Regions from separate parts of the Homo sapiens genome. Here region 2 is linked to region 1. Evidence: promoter capture Hi-C in human tissues and cell types (Jung and others, 2019). All regions are on one chromosome and are shown on one strand. The core of a region is centred on a gene start or on the middle of the fragment in contact, and the rest is flanking DNA. Distances in the headings are between cores, read along the strand shown. Region 1 holds the start of CATSPER3 (cation channel sperm associated 3). Region 2 overlaps MACROH2A1 (macroH2A.1 histone).

Evidence for each region. The method cuts DNA at HindIII sites, captures the fragments that hold promoters and counts their contacts. A contact is called where the count stands out against the background at its distance.
Region 2: a contact is called between a fragment that was not itself captured here and the fragment with the promoter of CATSPER3 in region 1, in 1 of the 25 tissues and cell types used here (IMR-90 fibroblasts).

The regions. Positions count from the first base shown.
Region 1 is chr5:134,965,516-134,969,718 of GRCh38, reverse strand. CATSPER3 (cation channel sperm associated 3) reads right to left here and starts at 1,812. Exons shown (of 8, transcript NM_178019.3): 1 at 1,630-1,812. The coding sequence starts at 1,727. The HindIII fragment of the contact is 15,471 bases long and covers 1-4,203 here.
Region 2 is chr5:135,344,859-135,349,061 of GRCh38, reverse strand. MACROH2A1 (macroH2A.1 histone) reads left to right here. Exons shown (of 9, transcript NM_138610.3): 7 at 3,005-3,094. Among named protein-coding and RNA genes, the nearest start is that of MACROH2A1, 52 kb to the left of the region's middle. The HindIII fragment of the contact is 5,802 bases long and covers 1-4,203 here.

The sequences.
Region 1 (4,203 bases), core at 563-3,062:
CCTGGACCTCTGAAAAAGAATGGTCACCACTCCTTCTCCAGCAAAACAAAGTGTCATCTTCATTGACTCAACAAATCTTTATTGAGTGGCAACTACATATCAAGCAATCTAGTAGGCACTGGGAACACAGTGACAGCAAGACTAAATATTGCCAGTCTACTAAGCAAAACTGATAATCATCAAATAATCACCCATACACATGCTCACATCAGTAATAAAAAACTGAATACCCCAAGAGAAAATGGGCACACAATCTATTCATGAAATAAACACCAAAGACAAACAAACTTCTCCAAATATGTTCTACAGCAATACCAATCAGGGAGATGCAAAGTAAAACCATTGTTTTTGTTTATAAAATTAGCAATGACTTAAATGTGATAAGATCTAATGCTGGCAACAGTGTAGTATGATTGAGCACTCTCAAAAACTGCCAGAGGCATAAAAACTGACCAGCTCTTTTGAAAAGCCTGAGAACCATTCATTCTCTGACCCAAGATAATATAACCTGAAATGAAATAACTTCAACTAAACATGTCTATCTCAGTATTTTTTCCAGCACTGAGAAGCTTGAAAACAACTTAAACATCTAACAAAAAGGACTGTGTAAGTAAATTATGGTATGTCCATCTTGTGAAATACAGGCACTAAAATATGTCTATGCATTTTTCAGGATTTAGAAAAATGTTTATGATCCATTTTTATATCTTTTGTTTTTGTGTGCAGCAAAACACAAAAACCAAAGATACAAAATTCTCTGTTCAAAATTATCTCACCTGTGCAAAAATCAGCAGTAGAAAAAATCAGCAGGAAATATGCCAAAATTTTAACAGTGTCTGTCTATGGATGGTGAGGTTATAGGTGATTCTTTTTCCTGTTTATTTCCATTTATCTGTGCTTTGCAATTTTTCTCAGAGTACGTATTACTGTTTCCCATTATATGTTACAAATGAAATGAACACATTCTCATAAGTTAAAAAAATATAGAATATATATTTTTCTTTTTCCTTTTCTTTTTTTTTTTTTCTGAGACAGAGTCTCGTTCTGTCACCCAGGCTGGAGTGCAGTGGTGCAATCTTGGCTCACTGCAACCTTCGCCCCCCAGGTTAAAGGGATTCTCCTGCCTCAGCATCCTGAGTAGCTGGGACAACAGGTGCACACCATCACTCCGGGCTAATCTGTGTATTTTTAGTAGAGATGGGGTTTCGCCACGTTGGCCAGGCTGGTCTCAAACTCCTGACCTCAAGTGATCCGCCCCAGCCTCTCAAAGTGCAGGGATTACAGGTGTGAGCCACCGTGCCCAGCCAGAATGTATATACTTTTCTAATATATCAAGATATGTAATTTTCATTATCTGATTTGAGATGGGGTCTATTATAAAAAAAGAGAAAAGCCTTCAGATTATCTAACAGTCAAACTGGTCAAACTGGTCATTCAAGTCTACAGGGCACATAAAGGTAATAGCATGCCAGCCTCACCAATCATAGAAACCAGATTGTCAAGGACATGCAACTTATTTTGGTAAGCAGACGAGTATCTGAGGGAAGAGGCTGAGAGAACACTGACACCCTGCCCTCACACTTCTACTAGCACATTTCTTAACAGGCAATGGAGATAGATAATATTTACTTAAATTTCTTGAATGTTGGGCAAAATCCCACCGATGTAGTGTCAACTGGTGAACTAGAAATGACTCTCGAGTGGCGCTGGTGACGGTGTTGAGACATTTTCCAAATTTTCAACTTTTATTCCTTGCTTTTAGCATCCAACAGAAAATCTCTGCTTAGGGATTTTCCTTAGCGTCTGGATTCTGAGAGGCAGCAGAGAAGGGGCCACGAAGGGAATCCTTGCTTTATGAGGTCACTCTTGGGCATTCTGTTGCATTACCAGTGTGTAGGCCCCTGAAGTGGGGAGCTCCCAAGTGGGTCTATCATGGATTCTCTCTTCCCAAGGAGACTGAGTGCCTCCATTCAGCAAAAAGGCTATGGGCACCCAGCAATCATGAGGCTCTGGGTTAAAGCTGGAAGTCACTAGAAACAGACCACACAAAGGCCCTCCCTTCAAGAAGTGCCCCCAGCTGATAGACACAGGCCCTTAATAATGTGTTAGAAAAAGTTAAGGGTCATATATAAGGGGGAAAAGCAAGTTCTCTGGGCTCTAAGAGAAAGAGAGCACATCCAGGGCACAGCACTGGAAAACACCTGGAAGGACAAGAAAAGATTGTGATGGGTTTGACTTAGAACAAAAGAAAACAAGAGAAGCAAAGAAGGTAATAGTGAGGTAGGGATAGTGGCTCACACTTATAATCCCAGCAACTTGGGAGGCTAAGGTGGGAGGATCACTTGAGGCCAGGAGTTTGAGATCAGCCTGAGCAACATAGTGAGACCCCCATCTCTAAAAAAAAAATAAGAAATAAAAATCAGCGACGAGGCATAGCGGCTCATGCCTGTAATCCCAGCACTTTGGGAGGCCAAGGCAGGCAGGTCGCTTGAGGTCAGGAGTTTAAGACTAGTCTGGCCAACATGGTGAAACCCCATCTCTTACTAAAAAAAAATACATAAATTAGCCGCGCATGGTGGCAGTTGCCTGTAATCTCAGCTACTCAGGAGGCTGAGGATGGAGAATCACTTGAACCCAGGAGGTGGAGACTGCAGTGAGCCAAGATCGTGCCATTGCACTCCAGCCTGGGCGACAAGAGCGAAACTCCATCTCCAAAAAAAAAAAAAAAGGAAATAAAAATTACCCATGGGAGGCTGAGGCAGCAAGATAACTTGAGCCCAGGAGTTCAGGACTAGCCTGAGCAAGATAGTGAGACTGTCTCTACAAAAAATAAAAATAAAAAAAATTAGGTGGGTGTGGTGGCATGCACCTGTAGTCCCAGCTACCAGAGAGGCCAAGGTAGGAGGATCACTTTAGTCCAGGCGTTGGAGGTTACAATGAGCTGTGATCACACCACTGCACTCCAGTCTGCATGATAGAATGAGACCCCATCTCTTAAAAAAAAAAAAAAAAAGAAAAAAAGAAAGGAGGCAATATAAACCCTGAGTTGGCTAACTGCAGGCATAGGATGGGATGTGCACATATAAACCACCTAAACAGAATATAAAGAGTGAGCACATGTGGCAGAGATGTTTTAAGTACAAAAGTAATAGGGATTTTTGCTCTGTTCAACTCTCAGGATTAATATATTCTCCCCACTCACCTTCTCCTAACTCCTTTGGCTTTCAGGGCAAATCAGGACAGTGGGATCTGGGTAGCCCTGTGTTGTATTAAATGCTCAGTGGCTAAATTGGTCAATCTCCTGGACACCAAAGTTCTTGGGCTGTAAGAAAAGGAAGTAACTACCCCACCATCTCTGCTGTCCCTGGTATTCTACAACAAGTATATATGACCATTCATGGTAGGAAAATACTTTGTGGGCAACCAATATACTGAACTGGGAAATAACATCTTACGTACTCATTTTCTCCATTTAAAATCATCAACAGCAAAGTTTTAAGAATCACTGTGATTAATGTCCCCACAATTCAAACTTTAGCCCCATCTTCTCCGTCTTCATTGTTTCCCTCAGGGATCAGCTCCTCCTATAACTCCTGCTATGTCCTTTAGTTATATGCCCCTAACGTCTCAGGGCTCCTGCCCAACATCCATCCACAGGGGCCTCCTGGGGCAGCTGCTCTAAGACAGCCCGCATCAGCTCTCCATCTGTTTCTACCTGCCCTGATATGTCACTGTGCTCAATCCCCTAGGGCACACAGAAGGCCCTCAGTAAGTGTGTGCCGTATGAATATACAAAATAATGGCATCAGGGATCCCTGTGCTCATTCACATAGCTAGGGACAACAGGATTTCATCTCCAGGAAACTCAGTAGTATACTTTTGTGACTTCTCTCTTTAAGCACCAAAGCATACTTTCAGGGAAAAACAAAAAAGAGATTAAAAATGTAAAGAATTCTTTCATGCTGCTTGGAGAGGTGAGGGAAGGTAGCCCACTGAAAGTGACAGAGAAGAGCCCAGTTGTTCTTGGTGTACTACATCAGCACAGCCACAGATGAATGCTGTTTCTGAAGCCAATGATGAAGACTTTAGTCTGGAAATGAAACTCCAGCTGAGTGAGTGGAAAGCAAACAGGAAACCAGAGGTGACAAGCTGATCCAGGGCCTACTGAAATCATACATATCTTCTCATGGATTGGTGGGCAGG
Region 2 (4,203 bases), core at 1,068-3,567, 380 kb before region 1:
TGAGATAGGGCTGAAGCCTTGAGGAAGTAACAGGCAGACCCAGCTGTGCCACCCAGAAGAGCCCAGTCCTTCCTGAATTGTGACTGGAATGGGTCTCTTTGGAATAAGGATGGTGCTAATGCTTTTCCTCTGACATGTTCACCTACAACTCATTGATAGGCACAGGGTGGGGAATTATTAGCTTCCAAGCCACAGGAGCAATCTGGGCCCAGGACCCTGGCACACATCATTCACCGACACTGTAACACCTGCAGAAATCCTCAGCAGGTTCAGACACCCCAACTGGCCAAGGCAGAAAGACTGCCAGGTCAGAACCCAGTCTTCCAAAGCCCTTCAGGGCTTTTCTGCCCAGCGGACCAGTCCAAACCAGTATTGACCCCAGATATCTTTTACAATCCCAATGATAAACCAGATTCCTACATGGCCTCAATTGGTTCCAGCTCCCACTTTGATGTGTGAGAGGAGAAAAGAGGAAGCTAGTAATCACTCCATTTCTCATATTTGGTGTGAAGTCCTGAGACTGCTGGAAGAAGGAATCCGAGTGCAGGAATGCTTAGCCCCAGTGATTAACTTTTACCCATCAAAAGTTCTTTCTAACAGTGAAATAGACCACAGGCCTAGCCTGACATTTGTCCAAGCCTAAATTTTCGCTTAGGCTGTTTTGAACACTGATACTTATGCCTGCTTTCTAAGCATGAAATAATGTCCTTGTTCTCATGGGAGTAACACATGTTTATGCTTGGGGGCAAATAAGCCAATTGCTTTATGATTAACCCTGAAGTTAAGCCTAAAAAGCAAGAGTCTTACAATAAGAGTGTTGACAATATGGTTGAAAATGGGCCTGTTTCTTGTTAAAAAGTACATGTGTGTCTACATGAACATGTGCATACATATGTGTGTGTAGGAGTCAAGTCCTGACTGGGTTGATTGCCTGCAATCTAGGGTTCAGTTTTTAAGTTTGGGAAATGCATTTAAGTGTATTTTAACTTGGAAATTTCACTTTTACTTAAAGCAATATTTATAAGTAAAAATTTTAAACACTCTTCCTAAGATAAAACACCTTTAATTATAGATCAGCCCATTTTCTTAAATATTTTAGAAAGGAGTTGGTAATCATGATAAAGTAAAAACATTATTTTACCTTTCAAATTTCTCAGTTCTCACCAAAGAGTTAATCTGATAAAGACTGAGAATGCTAACTAGTCCAGCCTCCAGCATTTTTGTTGCCCTGCCTCAAGCTGGAGAATGGGTTTAAGACAGAAGGCTAGACTGGGCCCCAGGGGCAGCAGTGTGTGGAATCCAGCTGGTTCCGGCTCCAGATTCCTTTTTCTCAGCTGCAGGGATAGTTTAGGTGAACCTGTATTGGGGTCTCACTCGCCTGGGTTGCATCCACTTTGTAGTGGTGGAGTTGGGCTCTAAGCCCCCGGCCTGCTTCCTCCAGTGCATGCCCCATTCAGCTGCCACCTCTGATGCTGACTTTACTAGAAACATGCAGCAGCAACAGGTGTGACATTCTCACTCTGCCATTTAAAGCCTGTGCTGCTTTCCAGGACAGGTAGAGGCAGGAGGGCAGTCTGAGATCATGAAGGGTAACACAAAATCCCACCTCAAGGATGCTAAGTTTGTGCCACCCTCTCTCGGACACAGCTGAGAGCTCCCCTGGGCTATGGCTGCTGGTCATGTTCATCTGCACACCCCAGGTTTCCTACAGCGGGTGGGTACAGGCCCAGTCCTAGCCATTAGCCCTGGTTCTTATTTGGGACAAAGCCCAAGCTATTTACTCTTCTTCCCAGACACCTCCCGGGGTTAGTTCACCCCTGCAGAACAAACATTCAAAGGAGGCAAGTTTCACTAAGATAATTAACCCTGGTCATCGCAGGGTGACTCCAAAGAGAATTTGGGCTGGTGCATTCCGATGCACCTTGACCGTCCCATACCAGAATTGTGCCAGGTGCACCTGGAATTTTCCAAGACAGATGTGAATCTTAAGGGGAGTATTTTGTCCTCTTGTGAGGAAAAGTACTTTAAAATGTGCAAAACTGAGGAATCAGAGCTTAAGGAAGACTCAGACCCCATTCTGGCCAAACTTGAAAGGCTGATCTTGTTGCTAACTTTGATTGCCACTTGCTATCCCACATGAGCATCAACCCAGAGTTCTCATAGGTGTTGGTGATCTTGTTTGGGAACTTGGTTTTCACAGCAGGAACTGATTACTTAGCAAGTGCCCTAATTGAAGAAAACACATTGCTCCCAATCTCCATTGGCTTTTGTGAAAAATCTGGTCCTGAGCAGTTAGACATCCTCCTTTCCAAGCTTTTTATAGAACACAGATTAATCTTTAAGCTCTGCTTCTGATGTTGCCCTTCTTTACTGAAAACAATTCTGAATCATTAGTGTAATTAAGAAAATACCGTCTGAGGCCATTTTTATTTTGTATTTGCATATGACACCAAAGCTGCAAAACAGGAACTAAGCATGGTAATAATGCTGGTCCAAAGGTGGCCAGGTATGAACACTTCCTTCTAGGCCTGCTGCCAGGAGGAGAGCTGGCTTATTGATGGGAGCATTGTATGCTGCTGAAACCTCCTTACTTGGGGGTTCTCCCCAGAGACAGAGAAGAAAACCTAAGGCAGGCATTAGTCTTGGAAACCAGTACCAGCTAGTATCTCATGCCAATGAAAAGCATCCAGGACAAGCATGTTTGCAAAAAACAAGCATGTCCTGTCTCTTTCACATCTCTGGCACATCCATGATCACCCTGAGTCAGACCCAAATAAGGGGCAGCAGAGACAGCCAGATGAAGCAGCAATTTGAGGGTAGTAACTGGTGATGACAAAGCCCTTCTCAATTTTACTTTATTAACTTAGCCAAGGCTTAGTTCCTGTTTTGCAGCCTGATGGAAATTTAATAGATCATTTGAAGTATGTAATCACCTGACATGCTAAGTGTCTGTGTGTGCCGGAGACACAGAATGGCAACCTGACCCCACCCTGTCCTTGTCTAGGAAACACGCTGGAGAAGAAAGGTGGCAAGGAGTTTGTGGAAGCTGTCCTGGAACTCCGGAAAAAGAACGGGCCCTTGGAAGTAGCTGGAGGTGAGGTGGGAAAGCCACCGTGCTTATCTGGTTGTGACACATGCAGTATTAGGAAAGCCATTTTGTGAGAGGGCTTAGAATTCAGAGGTGTGTGGCAGCACAGCCGCATCTTCAAGATGGAGGCCAAGGACAGCCTGTAGCTTTACATCTTAGAGTTTCACCACATGCAGGTTGTCTGGGAAAATCACCTTTGCATTTTTTTTTATTACTTAAAATAGCTCCTATATGTTTGATGTCTAGATCACAAATTTTAAGAAATTATAGGAGCTGAGTTTGGTACATCTAAGAGCTGAGAGTGAGTGATACTGAGCCATCTGCAAAACTGCTGGTGAGAGATACAAATTAAAAATCTTCAGCCATCTGTGTGTGTAAGAGGAAACATATAAATACACATTTCTCATTTGCCAATTACACCTTCCCTGGTATAAGGGGAAGAAAACGACTTGGCATCTGATGTGGGGAGAATTATTGCTAAGACCTGGAGGCAGGGTACTTCTTACTGCTTCAGGCCTGAATTTAGGTGGTCATTTGGGGTGTGCAGGACAGAGCACCTCCTAAGGACCTGAGAGTCCAGTCAGTGGGGAGGCCCAGCTCCCCCACCAACTGTGTGAGGACAGATCACCCACTTCCTCACTTGGGGCTCTGGTTTTCTCTTCTTACTACCCGATTCCAATGCCTATTGTGTCTTTTAAATCCTCTGTTTTAAAAATGAATCTTAAGCTCTCTCGGAGGGTCCACCAGGCCGTGCACCTCTATTCCCAGTGACAAATGACACCCCTTCCAGGCTAGTCTCAGGATCCAGTAGGATTCCCTTTGCTGATCTGTGCCTTTGACCTCTGCTCTGCCACTTCTGTTTTACCTGCAAGGGGCATGACATACAGGGTAGTAATTATGAAGTTCTCCCAGGCAGTTCCACCAAAGTCCCACATTGTACAAGGGAAGGCATACACAGTTTTAACTACCTAGCCAGGGGCAGCTGGCCTTTCCCCAGGCCCTTTAAAACACCTGTTTGACCAGCCTGTGGGTCCTTTCCCATCGGGGTTCCAGCTTGAGTCCTGCTGGTAGCCCTTGGCACAAGGCCTGGTAGGCAGCCTGGTGCTGCCATGTAC